Linked DNA regions of Homo sapiens: region 2 is linked to region 1. Evidence: promoter capture Hi-C in 16 types of primary human blood cells and fetal thymus (Javierre and others, 2016). All regions are on one chromosome and are shown on one strand. The core of a region is centred on a gene start or on the middle of the fragment in contact, and the rest is flanking DNA. Distances in the headings are between cores, read along the strand shown.

The links. The method cuts DNA at HindIII sites, captures the fragments that hold promoters and counts their contacts. A CHiCAGO score of 5 or more calls a contact.
Region 2: a contact is called between a fragment that was not itself captured here and the fragment with the promoter of CYB561 in region 1, in 2 of 17 cell types (M0 macrophages and M1 macrophages). The highest score is 6.1, in M0 macrophages.

What each region holds. Positions count from the first base shown.
Region 1 is chr17:63,443,802-63,450,263 of GRCh38, reverse strand. CYB561 (cytochrome b561) reads left to right here and starts at 3,958. Exons shown (of 6, transcript NM_001915.4): 1 at 3,958-4,019. RefSeq lists enhancers at 1,746-2,558, 3,062-3,201, 2,559-3,372 and silencers at 3,342-3,531, 3,702-4,261. The HindIII fragment of the contact is 2,186 bases long and covers 2,701-4,886 here.
Region 2 is chr17:63,539,754-63,546,215 of GRCh38, reverse strand. KCNH6 (potassium voltage-gated channel subfamily H member 6) reads right to left here. Exons shown (of 13, transcript NM_001278919.2): 9 at 3,782-3,975; 10 at 2,556-2,640; 11 at 1,805-1,967; 12 at 952-1,138; 13 at 1-607. The coding sequence ends at 314. Among named protein-coding and RNA genes, the nearest start is that of DCAF7, 7.5 kb to the left of the region's middle. The HindIII fragment of the contact is 1,278 bases long and covers 3,203-4,480 here.

The DNA.
Region 1 (6,462 bases), core at 2,709-5,208:
GCATCTTCTGGCTCGATAATTCTGTCATGACCCAATACGCCTTCCCTGACCCTCACATCTGGGTTGAGGGCCTTCCTATGCCCTGTACCTAATCCTGGTTTTCCCTCTGTAAGGTGGTCAGAGATGGGCTTGGGCAGAGTAGTTTCAAAGGCTCTCCCCAAATCTCTGTGCAGCTCCCCTGACTGAAGGCCTGTGAGAACAGGGTGGTGCCTGTCTTGTTCACTGTTCCCCAATACCTCACCTAGTGCCTGGCACAGAGAAGGTACAAAAATAAAACTTTCCCAAGAATGAATGGTGTGCATTTGAATCTTATAGTGTCTGAGGACTGGGGAACCATCTCTTATCCCTTTGTATCCTCTGCTGCCCAAGGTCAGGGCCTCTGCCTGAAGTCCCTACTGAATGAGGGTTAACTGGTTCAGAGATGAGGGAGGAAGCCATTGCTGGGAGGGGCTAGAACTGGGCCCCTGCCCTTCCCACACCCGAGCAAGAGCAGTAGGATTGTCAGATGAAACACAGGACATCTGCTCACATGTGAGGAATACATCTTTTTTTTAAGACAGATTCTCTCTCTGTCACCCCAGGCTGGAGTGCAGTGGCATGATCTTGGCTCATTTCAACCTCTACCTCTTGGGTTCATGCCATTCTCCTGTCGTAGCCTCCCCAGTAGCTGGGATTACAGGCATCCACCACCATGCCTGGCTAATTGTTGTGTTTTTAGTAGAGACAGGGTTTTGCCTCATTGGCAGGCTGGTCTTGGACTCCTGACCTCAAGTGATCCGCTCACCTCAGCCTCCCAAAGTGCTGGGATTACAGGCATGAGCCATGGCACCCAGCTGGAATACATCTTTAGTATACTGCATGTAATATTTGGGACATGCTCATGCTGAAAAAACTAACTGAATTTGAATTTTTTTTTGGTTTTCTTTTTTTGAGATGGAGTCTCACTCCATTGCCCAGGCTGGAGTGCAGTGGCACAATCTTGGCTCACTGCAACCTCCGCCTCCTGGGTTCAAGCAATTCTCCTGTCTCAGCCTCCCAAGTAGCTGGGATTACAGGTGCCTGCCACCTTGCCCAGCTAATTTTTGTATTTTTAGTAGAGACGGGGTTTCACCTTGTTGGTCAGGCTGGTCTCGAACTCTTGACCTCAGGTGATCCACCCACCTCGGCATCCCAAAGTGCTGGGATTACAGGTGTGAGCCACCGCACCCGGCCTGAATTTGAATTTAACTGGGAAGCCTTTTTTTATTTTTTCCTCTTCTTTCTGAATCTGGTAACCCTAGCAAGGGAGAAGTGACTAGCCAGGTGCCAGGTGGGTCTACGGCCTGAGTCTCCAGCTCTCTATTCACATTCTGCCTGCTTCCTTGATGCTTCCTCCTCCTTAAATGCTTTCTGTCAGAGACCAGGGGGCACTCTAGGCCTGGCTGCCCAGCACGCGGAATCCAGGAGCACTCCTACCTCCTAATCCCTGCCCCAGCTGCCCTCTGGATGGTCAGGGAAGGCCTGAGGAGGTGATGTTTGAGCTGAGATTTGAGAGAATGTGACCAGAGATGATCCAGGAAAGAACATTCCATGGAGAGGTGGGAGTGAACTTGGTGCATCTGAAAACAGAAAGGCTAGCGTGGTTCTGCGATGTGGGAAGGGAGTGGAAACATGGAAACACAGTCAGCATTTCCTTTTTTTTTTTTTTTTTTTTTTGAGACGGAGTTTTGCTCTTGTTGTCCAGGCTGGAGTGTAATGGCGCGGTCTTGGCTCACCACAACCTCTGCCTCCTGGGTTCAAGTGATTCTCTTGCCTCAGCCTCCGGAGTAGCTGGGATTACAGGCATGTGCCACCCCGCCCGGCTAATTTTGTATTTTTAGTAGAGATGGGGTTTCTCCACGTTGGTCAGGCTGGTCTCTAGCTCCCGATCTCAGGTGATCCGCCCGCCTCGGCCTCCCAAAGTGCTGGGATTACAGGCGTTAGCACAACTCAGGAGGCCCTGGAACTCATCTTGTGCCACTCAAGAAAGGGCAGGAGGGGTCCTCTCCTTTCCCACCTTTCCCAAGCTGAAGGACTGCACACTTCTCAGGCTTCCAAGGCAGGAGCTTCGGCAGCAGGAACAGGGTTGCAAGGTAGTTAGTCTGGGTGTCTGTCGTCCTGGGTTGGGACATCTGGGAGCTGGGGCAAGGCCTCTGGGCCCTAGTGCCAGAGAGCAGTTTGGTGGCGTTGCCTGTTCTTTAAAATGGGTTAGGTGTAGCCATGAGCCCCCCCATGCAGCGGGTGTGCAGGCCTCTCCCTCAGTCAGAACACCCTCACCCACCCCTCCCCACTTGAAGCAGGCCCTTGAGAACACTGCTGGCAGGGAGGCGGCTGCTCTTCCTCCTAAGGGAAAAGCCTGCAGCCCCGTGCTGCTGGGCCGTGGGGTGAGGGGGAAGCCAAAGGGCCCCTATCACCCCTCAGCAGGAGTCTCTCCTGGCTTTGGAAGGGGCTGAAGGCCCGGGGCTCTCACGAGGGAACTCAGCCCTGCTCAGCCGGTCAGGACTCCTCCTCCACGTCTAAATCCACAGACCAAACAAAGGACATGGCTCAGTTCCACCTTCAATCCACAGGGATTCTGCCTGTTAGCACGCTAAGGAAACTGTTTCTTACTTTAAATTATCCATTAATTTCCTCCAACTGAAAGATACTCTACAAATTTTCTGTTGTTGGAGGGTTTAAGCTTGGTCCCTCTGAGGGGGTGGGCCCTGCTGTGTCGGCCCCTTGTGTCTGCTCGTGGAAGGTGTGCCATGTGCCACCGTGTGCCATATGCAGCTGACACGCCTGTGCGTCTCGCCTGGCGCTGGAGACTGCTCTCTGTGTACTAAGCGAGTACTGGATCCCCAGGGCCTATCTTGCCCACTGCCTGTGGCAATACACAGGCAATACACAAAGCGCATTCAAGTAAGCAGGTCTCCCTGCCCCCCGGCCTCCCAGAACCTCGGTGCCTGGAGGGCAGGTGGGGGAGGGCGTTCCTGAATGGAGGCCGGTTTCCCTCTGCGGGGAGGAAACCCCATTTCCCTCCTACCCCTAGGCGCTTGCTACATCTGGCCCGGCATCAGACAGGAAAGAACCCTTTCTTCCCAGCTTGTAGGAAGTCTGAGCTGGGCCCCTTATCTACCCACAGCACTTCCTGGACCGGGGGCCTGGACCGGGCTCCGAAGGGGCTGGCTCCCGGTCTTGGTCTTGGCCTCGGCGCCCTCGTTTCTCTGCGCTTTGGGCAGGGGAAGCTGCGGACGGCAAGCTCTCGGCTTTCGTGAGAGCCTGGTGGAATCGGTGTTCCCCGAAGGCTACTCTGCGGGGGCGGGGGCTAGTCCGGGCCTTCCCGGCAGTATCGTCTCCCCCGTGGGGGCTGGGGAGGTGCCCCCAGGGCTCCCGGAGCGGCGGCGTGGCCAAGGCCCGAACCGGGTCTGACATCTAGTGGCCTCCTGGGCCCGGGCAGGGCGAGGGCGGGGCAGGGAAGAAGGTGGAGGGCAGAATGGGAGGCGTGGAGCGAGAAAATCAGGAAGCGCGGGACCAAGCCGGGGAAGGGCGGCGGGTCTCGCCCCTGGCACCCGCTCTCCTCGGGGCCCGTCCCATCCCCCAGGCCTGGCCGACCCCAGGTCCTTCCGTGCGCAGTCGGGGCTCGCAAGGACGAATCCCGCGGCCCTCGAGGCAGGCCCGGGGGAGCTCCCGGCCCTCCACCCCCGCAGGCCGCAGATCCCACGCACCCCCGATCATGGGGGCCCCGGAGGGAGGTCGCGAGGCCGGGCTCACGGTGGCCGCGGTTCGCCCACGTGCGGGCCCGGAGCTGGCAGGGCCCGGTCCCGAGCGTGGCCGCAACCGCGGGGACCTGGCACGTGCGGGGCAGCCCCGGGGGCCGCGTACGCCACTTCCGGTCCCGGAGACACCGCCCAGCCCGCCGCCCGGTTGCCATGGCGACGCCGTCGCGCCACGGCCCGCAGAACCGGCCAAGCGACCCGGGCGCGGCGCGGGGAGGCTGAAGGGACGCTCGGGTAGGCAAGGTAGGAGGCCGGGCTGGGGGTGGGAGCGGAGCGCGCAGGGGTGCGGGGCGGGGGCGGCCCAGGTGAGCCCTGACTGCGCAGGGAGGGACAGCGCGGGGCTCCCGAGTAGCAGCCGGCCTCGCACCTGCCCCTTGCGGCCGCGCACTGGACTGCGGCGCCGACCCGCACCCTGGGCCCGAGGGCTGCAGGGCTCGCCCGCCCTCTCGGAGCCGAGCCTCTCCCGGTCCAGGCGGCCCCTGCCCTGGCCTGCCCGGGTGCCGGGTCTCTGCTGAAGTTAGAACCGAGACCCCCGCTTGCTGGTGACCCCGAGTTTGGATCTTTGCTCCTGCGCCGCGTTCTAGAGCAAGGTAGGGTGCAAATGGACCAACCAGCCTTTGCCACGGCTGCCCTCTTGAAATCTGAAACCGGAGCCACCGCCTCTTGCCCCGAGCAGGGCCCGGGCTGCAACGTGGAGCCGCAGGTCCCCGCCTGTGTCTCCCGACGCCCCCAGCTTCTGAGCGCGAGGGTGGGAGTTTCCCGAGTGGGAAAGCCCCATGGCTTCGGTGGCCTCGGTGGCCCTGTGGTGGGTCAGGCCGGTGCCAACTGCGCTGAGGGCGGAGCTGCCGCCACCTTGACACCTGGGAGATGGCAGGGCCACCCTCCCTCCCTCCCTCCCTGCCCTGTCCCCGACTGTATCACGGAGCGAGGATCATCCGTGTGGATCTGGGGTCCCCTTCCCAGACTTCTCCTTTCTGGTCGTCCTCCTCTCATTCATTCCACCTTGGCAGCCTTTGTGGATTTTCTGACTCCGTAAATGAAGTTACATCTAGGGCGCCTAGATTCTGCCCCTTTGGTTTAATAGCTAATGAAAAAAAAAAAAAAAAAGCTTTGCCACCTCCTCTAGGTGCCTGGATTTCTCCCGGTGAAATTTGATGGAGGCAGGAAAATACGAGGCGGTGGCAGCCCCACCTCCTTGCATGAGGGAGCCTCCTAGAGCTGGAGGTGGAACCACCCTGCTTGTCCCACTCCTTTTCTTTCTTGCTTTATTGCTTTCTTGCTTTCCTTACTTTCCTTCCTTCTTTTTTTTTTGAGATGGAGTCTTGCTCTGTTGCCAGGAGGCTGGAGTGCAGAGGGCAATATCAGCTCACTGCAACCTCCATCTTCCGGGTTCAAGCGATTCTCCTGTTCCAGCCTCCCTAGTAGCTGGGATTACAGGTGTGTGCCACAACACGCAGCTAATTTTTGCATTTTTAGGAGAGACGGGGTTTCACCATGTTGGCCAGGCTGGTCTCGAACTCCTAACCTCAAGTGATCTGCCCGCCTTGGCATCCCAAAGTGCTAGGATTACAGACGTGAGCCACCGTGCCCAGCCTTGTCCTACTACTTTTCTGCCCTCACCACTTTTCCTTGGCAGGCAGAGCTTGGGCTCCTGCTAATACTGGGATGGTTCAGTGGCATTAGATGGCATTGGTGGAGGGGAATGAGAAATTAACCCCCTCTGAAAGCGTAGCTTCACTGGGAAAAAGCACTCTACTGTCTGAACAATTCATAAATGAATTTTGGGAATATACAATGTCACAGATTAAAAGCAGACCATCCTGTGTTCTTCCAGCCCCAGGAGCTTCTGCTTGGTGTGCAGGGGCTAATGGTGGACAGCAATGGAGTGTAGATTTATTAGAGACGGCTGCCATCTGGCTCTCTGTGGCCCCAAACCTCATGTGTCAGCAGTGTGACTCTTTCTAAGGTGCTCTTAGGACCAGATTTCGTTTTTGTAAGATTGGTCTTTGATGGAATGCCTACTTTGTGGCAGGCACTGTGCTGGGCGCTGGCACACCTTTATCCACTTACTCCTTCTGTGTTCAATAAGGTAGCTCCAGATATCCTCCACTTTATAGATTAGGAAGCAGGCTTGGAGAAGGGACTTGGCTTGTCCAGGAGCTGATGGTTATAAATAATGAGTCTGTTTTGAAATCACATCTCTCTAACCTGGGCTGCGCTGGGCCTTTCATGGGCCGTTGGCCCTCTGGCCTTCACGGGCCCCGTCTTCCATAAAAAAAATAATAACAATTGGCCCGGCGCAGTGGTGAAAGCGCGTCTCTACAAAAGATACAAAAAATTAGCCAGGCATCGTGGAGCACGCCTGTAATCCCAGACTCGGGGAGTCTGAGGCAGGAGAATTGCTTGGACCCGGAAGGCAGAGGTTGCGGTGACCCGAGATCTTGCCATTGCACTCCAGCCTCAAAAAAAAAAAAATTAATAAAAATTATATTTTACAACTGCATTGGTATAAATACAAGTATAGTCCAGACTGGATTACAATTAATTTTAAAAACAAAACATTTTAGGGCTGGCTCATGTCTGTCTGTAATCCCAGAGCTTTGGGAGGCTGGGGCAGGAGGACTGCTTGAGACCAGGAGTTTGAGACTAGCCTGCACAACATAGTGAGACCCTATCTCTCCAAAAA
Region 2 (6,462 bases), core at 2,592-5,091, 96 kb before region 1:
CAGGCTGGAGTGCAGTGGTGCGGCCTCGGCTCCCTGCAACCTCCACCTCCCGGGTTCATGCCATTCTCCTGCCTCAGCCTCCCCAGTAGCTGGGATTACAGGCGCCTGCCACCACGCCCGGCTATTTTTTTTCTTTTTTAATTTTAGTAGAGGTGGGGTTTCACCGTGTTAGCCAGGATGGTCTGATCCGCCCGCCTCGGCCTCCCAAAGTGCTGGGATTACAGGCGAGCCACTGCACCCGGCCACCTCCCCAAGATCCTTAACTCTCACCTTGCCCACCTTCAGTCCCCTCATGGTGTCTTTATCTTGGAGTTCAGTGGCCCCAACTCCCTGCAAATCCAGGATCTGAGCCATGTCTCTGGAAGTCCAGCTGCTTGGGAACAGAGCCAAGGTGTTCAGGGAGGGAGGAGAAGCAGGGACCACAGATGAGTCCTTGTACTTCCAGGGGATGTAGAGGTGAGGCTAGGGGTGGCCAGAGCCCCTCAGGCTGTTCCTGTTCTGAGGATGGTGCCAGAGTTTTGTCCGTTGCCACAGCCAGGTGAGGCATCCTGGGGGAGGAGTTCCTGTGCTTTGGACTACAGTCATCCAAGTCTCCATAGCTTGGGGTCTGGGAGGAGCAAGAAAGAGGGATGCACCCCAGGCCAGGCTGCGGGTTAATCCACCCTGATTTCAGGGATGGGATCAGGCAAAAATTGTACCTGCCCTTCCCACACCTCAGGGTCCTGCTGCCCTGGCCCCAGCTGCAGGCTCTGGAGTCACATTCTGGGCTTTGCCAGCACCTTGCCCAGGCTAACCCTATCATGACTCTGATCATAAAGGAGGTAAGCAGAAGCCCTGGCTGCTCTGGGGCCACAGAGGCTCTGGGCCTGATGCTGCACTGTGAACAAGTCAGGGTAGGGAAGGCATGCAGCTGCTCGCAGGTAAGCCCCTGGGAATCCCCTCACCTCTTACCTGTGCAGGAGGCAGAAAGCCCTGGGGCAGCCTGGGCCCTGGACTCGTCGTCTCCGAGGCTATAGGAACCAAGGCCAGGTCATTGGAGGCAGGGGCTTCCAGAATGTAGCTGGCGTGGCCCTGGGGCATGGGCTTCTGGAGGAGCTGCAAGATGCGGCTGAGGTCTGAGGACACGCGGGACTCCAGCCTGCCAGACAGAACCCCACAGTCAGGGTCAGGGCTGGCAAAAGTAGTTCCTGAGGGCAGCTGTCAATCTTGTAGCCTGCGTGCTGTTCCTGCTAGATGGAATGGCGGCCTGGGGCCTACCTGAAGCTATTTCCTTACTGGGATCCACAGCCCCGGCCCAGAATCCCCCTGGTACACCCCTGACTCTTAACAACACCAGTGAGCAGGCACCAAGCATACAAGATTCAGTCCCCAAGATGCTTTGATGTGGATGTTCCAATTATCCCCATTTCACAAAAGGGCAAACTAGGTTCAGAGCTGTTTAGTAACTTGCCCACACTCTTGCTGGTAGGGAACAGAGCCAGAATTTGAACCTGGACTGTTCTGCCTCTAAGCCCTCGCTCTGCCACCATAGCCCTGCCATCCACAGGACACACTCCCTTTCCCAGGACCTATGGAATTTGTTTCTGCACATGGTTGTGCCCCTCCCCCGAGAAGCTCCCTTGGCATGTTCCAGAGTTTGCTAGGGGAAGTCATTGGGGGAATTGTGCTTAATGACAGGTATGGGGAGACCTGCAGCTAAATGGCCTGCCCCATTCTAAAACCCACCTGGCACCCTGTGATGTGTCTGAGCCACTAGGAGGGGCTACCCATGACCAGCCCCCAGCCCTGACCACAGCACACACACCTGTTCATCTGGGCCTGGAGCTGCTCTAGCCTGGAGCCCAGCTTCAGAGGCCAGCAATCTGGGTCTTCCTGAGGGCTTTGGGGGCTGTGCCTTGGGGGCATTTCCTGCAGTAGCTCAGGCCAGAGGCCAGATGCATCTGAGATGCTCAGGGGAGGGGCTGCATCTGCAGGAGGGAAAGGGAAGTCTCAGCTGGGCCTAGCTGGTTCCACAGGCCTGACCCTTCTCAATAGAGCCTGTCCCCCACCCCCTACCTGCCCTGGGGACACAGGGTGTGAGGAGTGGCTCTCCTTACCTGGGTGCCCTGGAGCACAAGGTCCTGCCCCCATGGAGTTCTGGCTCCCAGGACCCAGGAGGCTGTAGCCCTTAGAGGGGAACTGGGGCCCCAGCTCATGGGGAGACCCTGGCAGGGTGAGGACTTTTAGCACTGGTTTCACTGCCCAGGGAGCTGCAGCCCAGTGGCCCCCCTGATGCCTTGGTGTGGAACCTCAGGGGGCTGGCTAGTCTCCATACACCCCTGGGGGTTGCATTTGAACCACAGAGCCCTCACTCTGCCTCTGAGGACACAGACCATCAGGACTGGGAGACTGGGGAGGAAGGAGGGCCAAGGCTCCAGCTCTGGGTCTAGAGAGGGAGCCCCTCTCCACTCATGGAGTGGGGTGGCGCTGGGGAGGCAGGATGGAGAGGACATGGGAGGGGTAGGAGGCTGGGCAGGGGCTACAGGCTGGTGGGGGTGGGGGCTGGCTTTGCTCACCTGACTGGTTGTCACTGAGAAAGAAACCTTGGTGGTCTTGGCTGCCAGGAGCCTGTCGGGGGGATGAGTGGAGACCCCCGGCTGCCTTATGGGAAGCAAGAGGGTGAAATAACAGGAACCAAAGCTGGGATGGGGCCTCTTTGTTCTTCCCTGCCCTGACCCCATGGTGCTGTCACAACTAGGTGAAAGAATGACAAGCAGCTGGGCACAGCAGCGATGCCCTGGACGACTTCCTGCAGGTGGCCCAGGCTGCAGAGACCACACCCCTCCTGTCCTGGTGCCCAGCTGCTGGGCATTCTGGCCACCTGATGGCTGGGGGCCGAGGGCAGAGTCCTAACCTGTCAGTCTCCTGTGCAGATCGCGGGAGGGAGGGGAGAAACTGAGGAGGGGGAGAGGGGATGGTGTGGGGAGGGCTGTCCACAGCCAGAAAGCCCACCCAGCTCTATGCTCAGGAAGCTGGGCACAGGGCCTACGCCAGCAGGGCCCTCCCCCAAGGTGGAGGGGCGGGGCACCAGGGAAGAAATAGCCCGGGCTCTGTGTTTCCCTGCCAGATGCACACTCCCTTCTTCCCATTAGTTTCCTCCTCCGTGATACCCCGCTCTGGGCATTCCCAGGTCGGTCCTGGCTGTCCCACTCCTTAGCAAGCTTGAGCTCCACATGGCTTCTCCTTTATACCTTCGTGACTTTGGCTGTTTTACTTTGTGGCTCTTTATTTTTCTTGAGTTGTCAAAATCTCCTCTACTGAGGGATGAGCATGAGAAGAGACAGCTTTGTCACCTCTTGGCAGCCCCTGTGTCTGGCACTGTGAGCCCTCTGGACAGAAGGCACCCCCTTTTTCAGCTTGGTATGATGTAGTAGGAATGCCTGGGCTTTGGAGTCAGACAAATTAAATTCACATTTTGGCTCTGCCGTTGACTAGCTGAATGGCTTTGGCCAATTTATTTATTGTCTCTAATCCTCAGTTTCCTCATCTGAAAATTGGGGATAATAATACCATTTGCAAGAAGATCATGTAAAAGAAGCCCCACCCTTAGCACCCTACTGCTTAATAAATAGTAGCTATCCTCATACTTAGCATGACGCCAGCCATGGTAGGCACAAAAGAAATTATGGCAAAGGTTGCAGGATGGGGTTGAAAGGAAGGGTGTTGGTCAGATGGGTGCCCTCAGGCCAGGCAGGCTGCCTGGGCATTTCCACCCACCCTGGCCCACCTGGCCCTGACTCACGTCCCGCAGGTTGAAGGTGACCTCCAGCTTACTCCAGAAGCTCTCCGCAAAGGCCGGGTACATGTCCAGCACCTCCAGCAGATCTGCCCGCTGGATCTTGTGCAGGTCGCAGTAGGTCAGAGCCCGCACGTCTGCACTGGACTTGCCTGGCTGGGCATGGAGGCTGACGGGTTCCCCAAAGATGTCATTCTTTCCTGCCAGCCAGAGGGGTGGGAGTCTCTTCAGGGTCTGACTCCATGCTCCCTTATGAGGGTCCTTTGACCGTGACCTCCCCCAACCTCGGACATCCTTCTAGGCCGGGGCCTGCTGCCTGGGATAGAGCTCTGGGGACATGGCTGGATGTGCTGGCTGTGGGTGGCAGGGTAGGGGTGGGGCTGTTCTCTTCCTGTGTCCTTTGAGCGGCACAGAGATCCGGCGTGTGGCTCCTCTCACTGTCTCCAGGCCCTTCAGAACCACCCTCCATCAGAATCTCCCTCCTGTAGCCCATACTCTTTGGCACAGTGGGCAGGAAGGGGCCCTAAAGGCTCAACATCTGTCTCAACGTCTTCCTGCTGCTTGGCCTGCCAGTGCTGTGGAGCAGGGTGCAGGGAACCCAGGGCCAGAGCACCTAACTCCGCCAGGGCAGGGCCAGAGGCTTCTCTGTCTTCCCACTCCCAATTGTGGGGCCAGGTAACCAGCATGGCCCTGGTGAAGGAAGCTTGGGGAAGTTACTCCCCCTGTCTAGACCCCAGAGTCTTCATCTCTAAAATGGATAAAACCTGATCTGCCTTGCCAACCCCACTGGACTGTTCAGGGAAGCAGATGAGGTGATGCTTGAGAAAGTGACTCAAAAAGCAACAGGCAGCAGGGCTCAGCGGCTCACGCCTGTAATCCCAGCACTTTGGGAGGCTGAGGGTAGTGGATTATTTGAGGTCGGTTCGAGACCAGTCTGGCCAACACGGTGAAACCGCATCTCTACTAAAAACAACAACAGCAAAAACAAAAATTAGCAGGGCATGGTGGCCTGTAATCCCAGCTACTCGGGAGGCTGAGGCAGAAGAATCACTTGAACCCGGGAGGCAGAGTTTGCAGGGAGCTGAGATCACACCACTGTACTCCAGCCTGGGTGACAGAGCGAGACTCCATCTCAAAAAAAAAAAAAAAAAAAAGCAAGAGGCACCTGACTAGGTCCATGCAAGGCAAGGGGGAATATCCCAGGGTAGACATGGGTGATGTTCAGGTATGTGGTATGTGGCAAGGGTACTGGGCCCTCCTGGTGCCAGGTGCTGTGCTGGCCAAAGGATATAAATATAAGATGTTGTGCCACCCACAAGGACCCTCCCAAATCCCTGCAAGATAGGTACGTAAGCAGCCAACAAGTTTACAGCATGATCTGTAGAGCCCTAGAAACAGGAAGAACCAAGAGTTATGGGGCCATGGAGGAGGGAGGGGCTCCTCCTGCCAGGGGTGGCTGGGGCAGAGAGGAGGGGGCTTACAGAGGAAGTGAAGTGGGGGCTGTGTCGAGAGAAACAAGGACCAGCCCCCATGAGAAAGGCAGTCAGGACAGAAGAAACAGCATGTGATCAGCACTGCACTGTCAGGGCTCAGGGGTGGAGAGCCCAGGGCCGGGGTGCCACGGAGCATGACTGCTTTGATTCCCACTCCCCCAGAAAGTCCACTTGTTAGTGCAAGTGGCAGTAACAGTTTAGCACAGAAGGATGGGTGGAGGCTGAGACATGTCCCCACAAGAGAACAGGATCAAAGGGTATTCACAAAGGAGGGGGCTGAGGCCTGGAGAGGGAAGCGGCTTGCCAGGGTCACACATGAAACCCTGAAGCTTGAAATCTGGGCAACATTATAATGTGATGGTTTTCCAGTAGATGAAAGATTCTGATCTAGTGTCTTTTTCTACTCAGGACAAAATGAGAGGTTTCATGTCTCTAACTGAAACTTAAATTGGATTAACTTCTTAATTATTAATAATAATAATCATCCCTCCCATGTGATGGCACTTTTTTTTTTTAAAGACAGAGTCTCGCTCTGCCACCCAGGCTGGAGTACAGTGGCGTGATCTTGGTTTACTGCAATTTCCACCTCCTGGGTTCAAGCAATTCTCTGCCTCAGCCTCCCAAGTAGCTGGGATTACAGGCACCCGCCACCATGCCGGGCTAATTTTTTGTATTTCTAGTAGGGATGGGGTTTCATCATCTTGGCCAGGTTGGTCTTGAACTCCTGACCTTGTGATCACCCACCTCGGCCTCCCAAAGTGCTGGGATTACAGGCATGAGCCACCGTGCCTGGCCATGGATGGCACGTCTAAGGTAGGCTGGGAGTGAGGGAAGGTCTCATACAGAAACCTGTGCCTAAGCCCAGCCTTGGAGGACAACTGGGATCTGCCGGACTGGCACAGGGTAGGGCGCTCCAGGCAGAATGGCAGCACATGCAAGGGCACAGATTTAGAGAACTCTAAGTAGTTTGGCTGGAGCATGAAGTACCAGGGGGAGGGTGGTAGGACAGGGTGGTCGGATTGGGATAACTGGGGATGCCATGCATGGACCATGGGGAACTGTGGAGGGATCTTGAGCAGAAGAGGCAGATGTACAGATGTCTATTTCAGGTCACTGGCAGAAGGTGGAAGACAGGCATGGGAGTAAACCAGACGCAGGGCCATGGGAAAGGAGTTCCCAACACCTTTCCAGGAA